Regions from separate parts of the Homo sapiens genome. Here region 2 is linked to region 1. Evidence: promoter capture Hi-C in human tissues and cell types (Jung and others, 2019). All regions are on one chromosome and are shown on one strand. The core of a region is centred on a gene start or on the middle of the fragment in contact, and the rest is flanking DNA. Distances in the headings are between cores, read along the strand shown. Region 1 holds the start of CCNJ (cyclin J). Region 2 overlaps BLNK (B cell linker).

Region 1 (6,713 bases), core at 3,955-6,454:
TGGAGTATTATTCAGCCTTAGAAAATTCTTATAATATACTACATGGTTGAACCTTGGAGACAGTATGCTAAATGAAAAAAGTCATGAAAGAACATTTATTGTATGATTCCACTTAATGAGTTACCTAGAATAGTCCTATTTACAGGGACAAAGTAGAATAGTGGTTATCAGAAGCTAGAGGGTGGGAAATTGGGGAGTAATCGTTCAATGGGTATGGAGTTTCAGTTTGGGAAGATGAAAAAGTTCTAAAGATAGATAGTGGTGACAACAATGCAAATGTACCTAATGTCACTGAACTGTACAGTTAAAAATGGTTAGAATGGTAAGTTTTATGTTATGACAGCTGCTGGCAAGGTTGTGGAGAAAAAGGAACGCTTTTACACTGTTGGTGGGAGTGTAAATTAGTTCAACCATTGTGGAAGACAGTGTGGTGATTCCTCAAAGACCTAGAGGCAGAAATACCCTTTTACCTAGCAATCTCATTACTGGGTATATAACCAAAGGAATATAAATCATTCTACTATAAAGACACATGCATGTGTATGTTCACTGAAGCACTATTCACAAGAGCAAAGACATGGAATCAACCTAAATGCCCATCAATGATAGACTGGATAAAATGTGGTACATACAGACCATGGAATACTGTGCAGCCATGAAAAGGAACAAGATCACGTCCTTTGCAGAGAGATGGATGGAGCTGGAGGCCATTATCCTTAGCAAACTAATGCAGGAAAAGAAAACCAAATACCACATGTTCTCACTTATAAGTGGGAGCTAAATGATGAGAACACATGGACACATGTTGCGGGGAACAACACACACTGGGGCCTGTCGGAGGGTGGGGGTGGGAGGAGGAAGAGGATCAGGAAGAATAGCTAGTGGATGCTGGGATTAATACCTAGGTGATGGGATGATCTGTGCAGTAAGCCACCATGGCAAACGTTTACCTATGTAACAAACCTGCACATCCTGCACACGTACCCCTGAACTTAAAAGTTGGGGAAAAAAAGTTTTATGTTGATACATTTTACGATAAACAAAAAAGGGAAGTTATATATTCACCTAACTTAATATTACCTAAGATAAATGGATAAAATAGTCAATGTAATTTAGTAGTGTAGCCAAAGAATACATCAATTGTTGTTTTTTGAGACAGGGTTTCCTGTAGCCCAGGCTGGAGTACAGTGGTGCCATCTTGGCTCACTGCACCCTCCACCTCCCAGGCTCAAGCAATCCAACCACCTCAACCTCTGGAGTAGCTGGGACTACAAGCGCTCACTGCCACGCCCAGTTAGTTTCTGTACAACAGGGTCTCGCTATGTTGCCCAGGCTGGTCTCCAGCTCATGGACTCAAGTGATCCACCTGCTTTCAGCCTCCCAAAGTGTTGAGATTACAGGTGTGAGCCACCATGCCTGGCCAAAAAAATTTTTTTTTTCCACATAAAGGGAAGATGCCGATTTCTCATGTAGTTCCTAGGATTTTTCTTTTCTCCTTAACTCTTTCTTTGGATCTTTACAATGGTGTAAGTGAGTTGCAACTTTACCTTTGCTGCCACCATGTGACATTTATTGAGCATCTCCCATGCAGCAGACACTATACTAACCCAGGCATAAAAGCTGGAAAAACAGTCTCAAGCCTATCTCTAGCAGGTGAATCAAATACAGAGCTTATCACACAATATAGTCACCACAGGTTATTATGGCAACACCTAGGAAGAAAATCTAACTTAGCTCAGGGATTAGGGAGTTGGGGAAAAAAGGCAAAACCAGAGCAGGTTTTCCCAAAAAGTGGCCTGAACATGGTCTTAAAGACTCCCTGGAAACACCTGGAAAACACTGATGGACTTCACTTTCTTAATGTTTCTCACAAAGCTAGAATTGTTCCCATTTGTCATTAAGGCTCCTAAAAACACTTTCCCAAACAGCCTATGACACTAACTATACACAGCAAAATAATGAGAAGAAAGGAGACAAAAGGGTGTAAGGTGACAGCTGCTTTGTAGGGGTTTTTTGAGGGAGTGGATAGTTGGCATGATTTCCATTCATTGTCATTTTCACTCTTCCCTAGTAAACACAATGCTAGTCACACCAAATATTTCTCCACAAACCTAGGGCCTAAACATAGAATACCTTCTGCAGTATCTCAATGGCAACTGCCCAAAGGAAGACCTAAATGTGGATGCTCTAAATTATAGATAAGGTTAGACTATGAAGGCAAGGATCATGTCTCGTTCACTGTTATTGCTCTAACACCTGGCATGATATCATGTATGTCATAAATGATCAACATGTTGAAGAAAAACAGATGACTATCCGACTGAATCACCAATTAATAGCCTGGAATTACCACGTCTTTTCTAGGAGAAAAGTCCATTTTAAGTTTCCTTCAGTGTATTACAAACAGTGGTCTCTCCAGTTCCACAAGTTTAAGTTTTACAGATTAATGTAAATTCTTGTATAAAGTGTTGCCAGTAAGAACCATGGTTTGCATAATGCTTAAACATAAAGACAACCCAGGGCAGTAGGCCATAGGTGGCCCAATAAAACTTTCAGTGGCATTCCTTCACACCCTGTGCTACCTTGTCCTCTGATAGTTCATAAGCAACTTGAGTGAGTATAAGGTTGGGTCTTATGCCTTGGATGCTCCAGAAACTAATCCACAAAAGCCTTCAACAAATCTAAATCTAGGAGAAAAAACAAAAAAACAAAGAACCCATGTCCAAACTCAATTGACAAAATGCAGATAATCACTCACGAATTAAAATGATCTACACATAAAATGATTGAAAAGTATGGAAATCACCAAGAAAAACCTTTTAAGTTTCATGCCAATTAAAAAATATACTCTTGGCTGGGCGCAGTGGCTCATGCCTGTAATCCCAGCACTTTAGGAGGCCGAGGCAGGTGGATCACCTGAGGTCAGGTGAAACTCCAACTCAAAAAAAAAGTACTCTTAATATCAACTAATTAATTTCACTACATACCAGAGGGATAAAAAGGCTGACACTTAAAACACTTTTCAAAATATGTGCAACTATATTAATTTTTTTAAAAAAGAAAACATTTCACATTGAAAGATGACATCTGCCAAAAAAAAAAAAGATCAAAAGTGTATCTGGACAATTTTCCAAGAAACTGCAACTCTTTCCTAACTAACACTCCAGAGATCCCATTAGTTAGAATTTTTATGTGGTATAAACCATCTCCTAGGGGGCTGAACTGTATTTTAGTGAATCTAAGAGACTGAATGTCAGAATTAGTTAAGTAGCATTTAGAAATCTCAGGCCTAGAAAAGGGTAACAATTTAAGTCAGAATTAGGTTTTCCAATCTACTTGACCTGGTCAGAAACTCAAGATAAAAGTTCATTATCATTCCAGGATCTCAACCCCAAGAGTCAGAATCCTTTTTATTGAAAGTCAGCTGTTTTGCTTCTTTCTCAATTTTCTACATTTAACAAATGGCTTTCTTTATCCAAGGTGAAACTGAGTTAAGCTAGAGATCATTTTGGATCTGGTCTCTCTTTTGGTTATCGAAGAGGCAGAAATGTCTCATTAATCTGCCTTGCCACATGCAGAGTAAAACCGTTACTTAATAGCAACAATACACAGACTTTGCTTTGTGTTGGAAAAGTATTTTTTTCCAATATCTATTAAGTCTACTTTCTGCCTTTGATATCAGCAGGAAGGGGCAGCCAACTCCCTCCACTTTAGGGCTTTTGAACAGCCCAAATCCTGAGGGGTAAGTGATAAGAAGTTATCACTTAGTGCTTACTATATACCAAGAGCAGTTTCTAAGCACATGTACGGTACTAACTTAAGTTTCACAATCGCCAGAATCATAAGGCACACTCATTATTCCTCATTTTACAGATGAGGAAATCAAGAAACAGAAATTTCACTTGTCCACGTCTCACGGCAAGTTAGCGGAAAGGCTGAGGAATTTATGTACAAAAGCGACTTAAACTGGCTGCATGCAACGGCAACTCTCGAACAAAGAGGGCTGTTCTGCCCAACAAAAATTCAGTGTATATATCTTTTAAAATACAAGATCAAATTCATGACCCACCTGGAAGCCAGAACGCCCCTTTCCACCTTCCCTGGCCCAACTACCATCTCCCTACTCATTCAGGTTGCAGGTTCTTTTGATACATCCCAGAGAAGGAGCCAAGAAGTTAATTAACCTTGAGCAAATGAGCAAACTCGCCTTTTCTGGCCCGGAAGATAGTGAGTAAAGAACCTGACTAGACCTTCTAGAGAGCCGAGATTCAGAACAACTGGCGCGACACACAGAAGGAGAAGGCAGGCCGGGCCTCGGAGTTACCTTGTAGCGAAGCGCTTGGTGAATATCGGCGGCCAGCTGTCCTCGCCACCACTGCCCCTCCAGCTCCATGGGACCCGGCGGCGCGCCCAGCCCGACGCGGCAACTCGAGTCTGTAAGACACACCCCAGGCGCGGTCACTGCCGGCTCCCCCGCGACCCTCTGCGCCCCCTCCCCGGGGGGTGTGACCTCAGGCCACCCGGTGTGGCTGCTCATCTTCACTTGACTCTTCCTCAACCCAGCCCGACCCGAGTCGTTTCCCCCAACGCCACACGCGAAGCCGGGTCTGCCCCCGCAGGAAGAGCCGAAGGACTCTGAGACTCACTGCTCGACTATGTGTCGGGCAAAAGGGGATCCACTCGGGCCCTGAGTTGCCAAAGCGCGGAGCCAGGTGCGAGCTCGGGAAGAGCTGGGGGAGGCCCGGCTGGGGCTCCCTGCGTCCGGGGCTGGAGTTCTCCCGCCCTCCCTGAGGAGCGGGGAGAGGTGACACGCTCATAGCCCCGCTGAGGGGAAACGCTCCCATGGCAAAGCCCGGGGGTGAGCGTCTGCCTGGCCGCGGGTCTCCGCATGGACGTCGGGAGCCTGCTCCTCCCCGGGAGCCCCGAGAAACGCACGTTCCGCGCGGCCTCAGAAAGGGGAACAAAAGGCCGGGCCAGCCAGGCTCTGCGCCTCACCCCGGGAGGGTCCGCTGCCCCACGCCTACCCCAGGCCTGCCGGGCCGCCCGGCCCCACGCTGGCTCCCTTACCCGGAACCGCGGCCCTCACAGCCCCAGCCCCGCCGTCGTGCGGCGGACGCCGGCCCCGCTCATGCTGCGGACAGTGGGCCGCTAAGCGCCGGCCTCAGCTAGAGCCCAGCGCCTGGACGCTCGCGCCGCCCATTGTTAAAGGACCGGCAGGCGGCTCCGCATACAAAGCCAGCGCGGGGGCACTTGAGGCCCCGCCGCTGCCAATCTCGTCTCGCGATACAGCGGGGTCGCCCCGAGCCGTCCAATTGGCGGCCGGGCCGGGCCCAGGTGCAGCGCCAGGCGGCGGCGCGGCGGCTCCCGCCTGGGTACGGTCAGCATCCCGCACGGCGCGGCGTGGCCTGGGCTGGCCTGGCGCTTCGGTTGCCGGGGCGCTCAGCCGCCACCTACTGCGAAGCCGGCCTGATCGCCGGCTGAGGTCGGCAGAGAGCGCCGGAGAAATTGTAAGGTGGATCACTGCAGTGACCAATCCAGTTAGGCCACTCACCTGCTGAGAACCTTCGATGGCTCCTCGATGCCCGCGGAGCAAAGTTCCGACGCCTCAGTTTGGCGTTTAAAAGTCTTCACGGCATGGATTCGGTTTACCTTACTTCACGTTGCACCAACCGCTTCCATCCCAGGGGCTGCTCCGTGGATCATCAGGCCCTCCAAATGTGCTTTAGCTGTTTCTGCAGCCCCTGAAGCGTTTTTTTTTTCCTGTGAAATTATGCTCTTTTTTTAAGTTCCACCTCAAACTCCACCTTTCTTCTAGAAACCTAATTAATCTCTTCCCCCTCCTTATTTTCGTTGCTGTAGGGATTCCCAAGAGCTTTGAATGAAGACATTTAAGATTACTTCTAGTAACCTTGCTTGTCAAACCCATGGTGGATGTAATTAACCATCTGTGCTCGTAAATCAGGAAACTGCAAAACTGTGAGAACACTCCGACGTCAATTGAGGTGATATGGGGGCTGAAATGTGATTAGAGGAAACCTAATCAATTGTATTTTAACCTCTTTGGTGGATTATCACAAAAGAGGTGGATGGTAACCCTAGGACAGTGAGACTGTCCACTTTTCTGAGACTGGAGATCAATCTCTTAATAGTAAAACGTAAATATTTTTAAAACTTCACCCCTTTTACTTTGAATCCTTTGTCCAAAAAGATACATGATGATAAAGAACTACTACAAAGTGATAAATACATTTTATGTGATTCTGGGTGGCATCTTCATTTGAAGATCATCAGCAGACATGTATATGAGCCGTACCCTATCCATAGACGATGCTTATACCCAGGAGAGCAGGCCCGCAGGAACCAAAGGCAAGAAAAGGGAAACTCAGAAGCTGAAGTTGGCAGATCCCGGCCTAACCCGACATAGTCCAGGGAGAAGGCTGCCCTGGCCTGTCTCTCAGTTGCAGGGTCCTCTAGAGTGAAGGTAGACACATCAGGCTAAAAGCTTCATGCCATTTTTAATGGCATTTAAATAGTGTCTACATCCTTGGGTTCCATTTCATGACTATTAAACAACTTTATAATAATTTGGCTTCTAAATAACTGTCCAGGGCCTATTTAAGAACACTTTCAGAAAAATGGGGCACAGACTATAATCATTAGTATAAGAAGTAGACTGTATTTATCGCTTCTACTTTGAAAATATTGTTCACTGG
Region 2 (6,713 bases), core at 2,404-4,903, 160 kb before region 1:
GTCCCTAGAGACAGGGAGGAAGCTGGAGTGGGCAAGTGCAGCTGCAACCTCACCTGCTGGACCACCCTCTTACCTCTACCCTCTGTCCTGGACAGTAACCCCCACAGGGAGCTGTTGGGGAAGAGGGGGCTCCACAGAAACACTGAAAATACTGATCCTGGTCCTCAATTGACAGGTGAGGAATCTAACCTCACACTCAAGACAAAGAGGCCCAAGGTCACCCGCCAAGTAATTAGTGCAACTGGTGCAAGAGTCCAGTTCTGCCGGACTGGTGCCCTACTTTATCCCCAGTTGACCCCTTCCCCATCTGTCAGCAGACTCCATCTGAGCCTAGGAGGATCATAACTAAATCCCACTTCCATCCCTCTCCACCCTGCAAGGATAGTCTTCTACACACTTGTATCGCTTTCATAATTCTAGCTTAAATTTGAGACTAAAATAATGGTAAATAGCTCCATTTTGTCTTCGTTGTGTTTTAACAAAGCTCATCTCTTTTTATTCCCCAGGAAAAAACCAACGACACCACTGAAGACAGTAAGTTAATTTTGCATTTAAAAGTGCTTCATATTTCCTGCAGTGTTTATTCTTATCCATTTATTTAAAGTTGAAAATGCTTCCAGCTATGGTGAACACAGCAATCTTAGCAACTGAAGTTGCTGCCCAAGCAGTCCAAGAGAAGCTTCAAATCCTCAGGTAGCCAGGGAGGATGCTCCTCCCTGGAGCATAGAAGGAGCTCATCCTCACTTGATCCCAGCAGCTTCACTGAGTGTGCGCAGCAGATCAGAGGGGCAGCCAGGTTCCCTGCCCTCTCCACAGGAAGCGTCTGTGTCCACTCCCCACCACAGCTAATGGTAGACCATTGTGTATCAGGCACACATAGGCCTCACTAAACTCAGATTCTGGCCAGAACATGGTGAACCTGGGCCACAACACTACATAAGGGAGCCCACCTGGACCTAGTCCCTACTGTGAAGCCTGACATTTACAATCATTTAGCAAACACACAGAAGGGGGGGGTCATGAGACCAAAGCAGATGCCAGATGCCTGCTGTACATGGGTTACTATGTGGCAGCTGCTGGGGGGGTCATGATTTCCATCAACCCTGTTGACAAGGCAGGGAGGTTTCTCCACCACAGTGACATTGCTCCTTCATAGGACACTTCTGGCTGTTTGTTGCTTAATGCAAAGGTTGGGCTAGGGACTGTGGGTTTGTAATTGTTGTTGTGATTGAAAGAATAGCAATGCATCAAAGAAAAGTGCTGCCAAAATATTTATTTTAATAATATTGCTCTGACATTTATTTCCACATTCTGCTATATTGAATAACCTTGCCTTTTTTTCTTTTACATAGACTCCAGTTGCCTCTCAACAGAATGCTTCAAGTGTTTGTGAAGGTAAAATCTATTATTTTGAAGGATGAGCATGTCCTCTAAAAGTTATTTTATTAAGGATTTGTATGTACACATTTATTACATTATTTTTGGGGCAATTGTAAACATGAAACTCAATTTTCTAAACAAAATAGTTTTTGCAATGAGCAATGAACAGCAAAACTAGCTCAGAACCTCAGCATGTTTAGAGTAGGCTACAGAATGCATGCAAAAACCTGCCTTTTGGCAGACAGATATGACTTGCCAGGCAATAGTGCTAGGACCTTACATAAATGTGAAAACTAACGTAGAGCCATTCACATGTTTTAGAACTAATAGCTTACTTAAAGTAATGAAAACTTTAAAAATCTGTTTATTTGAACAAGTTCTTTTGCTAAGTTTTCAAGATAATGTTTTCAAAGTTCAATTGTCTGTCTTCTTAGTACATCTTCAATTGCTTTTCTTCCTTTTTTTTTTTTTTTTTGAGTTAGGGTCTCACTTTGTAGCCCAGACTGGAGTGCAGTGGTGCATAATTATAGCTCACTGCAGCTTCAAATTCCTGGGCTCAAGTTGTCTTTCTGCCTCAGCCTCCTGAGTAATTTAGAATTTCTTCCTTTATCATCACTCAAAAATCTTATATATATTTTTAGAAACTGCTCATGTTAAAAAAAATTGTGTTTGGAAATTACCGGAAAAAAATAGAAGAATCATCTATAATATCAGCACTTAAAACATTATATAGAAGTTCATGCCCTGTACCCATTTAATTCCATACTTGAAGATACCCAGGGTTAAAAATGTAGTGAGTATTCTCCCTCTTCCCTGAGTTGATGTGCGTATATCTACATAAAGCACTCTCCTTTCTCTGATGATGGACAGTGGATCTTTTCTGAGCATGCACTACAACTCACCTCTCTGCTTTAATGACGCCATTAGGTTTTTTCATCCTGTCTCCCATATCTTGCTTCCCTAGGCTATTTCTGAGGCATCACCCCTTTTCTGCTGTATTGCTTTCTTCTGCCTTCCCTTTGAGGCTTTTGTCTTTTCTGTACTTCCATTCCTTGCAGCCTCTCAGACCTGCTGAGTCCAGGTTGTGGAGTGATAGTGACTTCAGGAGCTCTGAGCATCTGTAGGAAGTAAGTACAACCTGTGCAGACTTCATGGCTACAAGAGCCTCCAAAATCCAGGAAAGAAGCAGGGCCCAAGGCATGTCCACTGCTGCTTAGGTGTCCTCATTCTCAAAGGGTTCCCAGTACAGGAGCCTGCCAGGCATGCCCCCTCCTTTGTTATTTATTTCAAGAGCATAGGCAATTACCATCCAAATGCAAAGTGAGTGAGTGGCCTCTACTAGCCTAGGAAGGAATCAGGATGGCGGAGGCAGAGCAGGTGTAGTCAAAGCTTATAGGCTGGCAAGACCTAAGGTGTTCATTGTTTCTCCTTCTGAAATTACCAAGTTTTAATGTCATGAGCAAAACATCTAACATAGAGGTTTGAAGTAGCTTGCCACAAATTCAAAATACAATCTTCAGAGGTTCAAGGTTTCCAAGCTTTAGTGCACCACTGAATGGTAAGAAACCCTGACGTCTATCTTACCATTTATTTGAATCTTTGAGTTCTTACTACTTTTATTTCTTTGGGGTTTCTGTAGTTCTCAGCCTTTCTTCCATGCAGACTCACACATGAACATACCAAGATTTTAACACACCCCACCCCCCAACGACAAATTTGAGGGAGAGTAAAGTATTAAAATAATGTGTGATCACATTTATTAATGGTTCAGCAGTAGAGTTCACTATGGGCTTCAACATAAATTTCTTACACTTCAGGTTTATGCTCATTTCCCACCCTTTCCTCTTCTGCTCAGGAAAACACTGAAATGCAAGTGAGATTTACATTATTATAGGGATAACCTTGAATTTGATCCAATTAATTTTGCAAAAAGAGATCATTTATGAACTCAGTAGTGTGCCTCTTATCAGTAACACACTGCTTATACCACGTCTTATGACTAATCAAGACCCACCAGGGTGTTGTCTCCACCTGTGTGGAGGCCACATGGCAAGTAGAGGGTGAGTTGTTTAGAGGGTGGCTAAAATGTTCTCATCTTCTGGCTTCCACCTATACTCACACACTTAAAGTTTCAGGGCCCGTGGGTTCAGTCTCTATGTACATTGCCAGTGGATGAATGCAGAGGTGGTAGGATGTACCTGTAACACTGCTGGGAGGGAGTCCTGGTCCTCATAGCACAACCACATCAACAGACTGGCAAGTGCACAGATCCATGACATCTCAGTAACTAAGACATGTTCCCGGGAAGACTTCTGATCAAATTTGGTTCTTCTCAGCTGATGTTGCTGGGTTTTGGGATGAGGACAGACATTTCACTCTAATCCTAATATGATAATTTTCCTGATCCAGAAAAACCTATACCTGCTGAACGCCACCGAGGGTCAAGTCACAGACAAGAAGCTGTGCAGTCACCAGTGTTTCCTCCTGCCCAGAAGTAAGAATCCTTTCCTTTAAAGATCAGTTTCCTCTTGTTGCTGCAGGAATTAACATGTGCATTGTTTCACTGCACAGTGACACTGACTTGCAGTGCTAGGTAAAAATCCAACATTTCATTGTTTTGCAGTTACGTGTTAAAAGGTGTTGAGCAACTTTAAAATAACTGTGTAGAGTTGCAGAGACCTACTAATTGGGTTAATTATTGAACTTGACTAAAATACAATACTTTAGTCAAGATTTCCTCCTTTTTCAAAACTAAAAGGAAGAGTCTTACTTATCTTTAAGGTTTTGGTGGCTCTTTTATCTTTAGATACATTTTATTGGCCATTTGTATTGATTTATTTGTGATGTGCCTGTTCACAGCATCATCAGTGTAAACAAAAAGTCAAACTTACTCATATTGTGCTTTGTCCTTTAATTATCTGAAATTCTTTCTTGCAGACAAATCCACCAAAAACCCATACCTCTGCCAAGTAAGTACAACGAAGCCATGTAGTGTATCAGGGAGTGGTCGAGGCTGGATCCTAGAGTCTGATAGGCCTGGGTTCTAACACAGCACTGTCGCTTCCAGCTGCGTTATCCTGGCATCTTCTCCCACTTGTTTCCTTACCTGTAAAATGGGGCCAAGAATGTTTATTTCACAGAGTTGTTTTGAAAAGTAAATATATTTGAGGCAATTTTTACTTTTTTTAGTAGCGATTTAATATTTTACTGATCATGCATCCTTTTTTAACTTTTTTTTTTTTTACAAAAACAATACAGCTGTTTTCAAAATAATAAGATCAAGTAAAACAACATATGGGAAGCACCAGCTATAGTGTTTGGTTCTAAACAAATAATACCGATTTAAATTAAGTCAAAATATATTTTAAAGATCACAAAATATGTCTACAAAAGGTACCTTAAAAAGAAGATACGGCAAATATCTGGATAATTTTTCCAAGGCAAACATCACCCTAAAAATATATGAATCGGATAAGTCAGGCTCACAGAACGTAACTGCCCAAACCTTAATTTGCCTGCAACTCAATGTGGGAAAAAAAGGAAGAAAAAAACTCTGCTTTACATAGATAATTTGGGATATATTCCAAAATAATAAAGCTTAAATCCATTTAAATAAACAGTAATTGTCCACATGCAAAATTTTTATGCATTTTTTTTACTAAACATAAATTGGCTTTTTAAATTTTTAATAATATTCATCTTAAATAAATGAAACTTTTACTAGTTTTTAAAAAAAATTCTGACAACACAAAGTGAAAATGATTTGGCTACAGAAATTTATTTTTCATTATTTAAAAAGGTTTATTATACCTTTTACCGTTTTTCAAACCAAGTCATTCATTCAGTTGTTAGTGACCATATGCCGTGTGCCAGGCATTGTTCTAGGCACAGGAGATACAAGGATGAACGAAACAAATAAAGACCCTGTCCTCATGAAACTTATATTCTACTGAAGGAGACAGAGAGTAAAAATAAACGCACAAATAATATCATATCAGGTAAATGCTGAAGTGCTATAAAGAAAAATACAGCGCAGCAGCAGGGGTGGGTGGCAGAGAGTAACGGAGGCAGGGAGGGCTGCTGCTGTAGACAGGATGGTCTGAGAAGGCCTGTTCTATAAAATGGGCATAATAGCTCATTCCACAAAGAGCTGGTGAAAGGACGAGATGCACGCATGTTGAAAACAGAATAGGCCTAGCACATTCGGGTGTCAGAAAATATTAGCCATGGGTACTCTTCCAACTGCCAGAACTGCAGAAACCACAAACTGCCCTGCACTGTGCACCTAGGGAAAGTCTGTTCACTCACTCACCTTTGCTGCTCTCACCTGGGAGTGCTGTTCCCCTCCTATTAGAATACATCCTTCCTTTTGGCCCATCTTTGTTGGGCCTGCCAAGCCCTCACTGCCCCCTCCTCTTACAATGGTGGCTGCCTTCTCTAAACATCCAGGGCACTATTATCTGAAGCACTTAGTTTATCCAGAATTCTTTCTCCTGCAGATTTCCCCATCTTAATAAAGGACAACTCTGGTTGCTGTTGTCAAAAACCTTAGAGTCACCCTTGACTTCTCACTTGCTTTCTTCACACACCTTCCAGCTATTCCTTCAAAATAGATCCAGAATCCAACCACTCTCACTGCTTCCACTGCTGTGATCTGTCCAAGTCACTGTCATCTCCTGCAAGAACACCGAACTGGCCTCCCCCACTCTGCTGTTGCCACCCTCTGTTTCCAGCCCAGCAGCTGGAATGACCCTGTTAAAACATAGGCAGATCATGTTACCCCCCTGTTCAAAACCCTCCAAAAGCTTCCCTTATCATGTTCATTACAGCTCTTGAGTCATGTTAAGGGTCCACCAAGTCCTATAAATCTGGTCCCTTCATTGCCTCCTGTCTGACTGTATCTCTTACTCTTCTCCCCTTTTCTTACTGTACTCCAGGCACAGTGGCACCCTTGCTATTCCTTAGATATGCCAGGCCTTGCCTTCACAGCTCCCTCTACCCGGGACATTCTTTCCTGGGATGTCCAGTGCCTCCTCCCTCTCCACCTGCAGATCTCACCCACATATTCTTCCTTTCCTGATTTATTTTTCTTCATAGCATTTATGACCCTCTAACATTATATATATATTTTTTACTTATGTCTTTATTGCCCATCTCAATCCATTAAAATTTAAGTTCCAGGAGAGCAGGGCATTTTGCTGTTTTGTTAACTGCTGTATATCCCCAATGCCTTTGATCCATGGCAGAGAAACAAGAATGAATGAATGAATGAATGAATGAATGAATGCAGATAAGTCTTTTTCGTATTTCACATGTTTCCACATTTAGACTGT

Evidence for each region. Contacts are between HindIII fragments. The study calls those that stand out against the background at their distance.
Region 2: a fragment that was not itself captured here is called in contact with the fragment with the promoter of CCNJ in region 1 in 1 of the 25 tissues and cell types used here (lymphoblastoid cells).

What each region holds. Positions count from the first base shown.
Region 1 is chr10:96,042,074-96,048,786 of GRCh38, reverse strand. It overlaps CCNJ (cyclin J), which reads right to left and starts at 5,204. Exons shown (of 6, transcript NM_001134375.2): 1 at 5,068-5,204; 2 at 4,325-4,434. The coding sequence starts at 4,393. The region is part of intron 2 of ENTPD1-AS1 (ENTPD1 antisense RNA 1); the gene reads left to right. RefSeq lists silencers at 4,924-5,493, 5,621-5,815. The HindIII fragment of the contact is 11,661 bases long and covers 1-6,713 here.
Region 2 is chr10:96,201,693-96,208,405 of GRCh38, reverse strand. It overlaps BLNK (B cell linker), which reads left to right. Exons shown (of 17, transcript NM_013314.4): 10 at 507-534; 11 at 1,353-1,395; 12 at 3,790-3,874; 13 at 4,318-4,349. It also overlaps a transcript of ZNF518A not described here. Among named protein-coding and RNA genes, the nearest start is that of BLNK, 67 kb to the left of the region's middle. The HindIII fragment of the contact is 3,857 bases long and covers 1,725-5,581 here.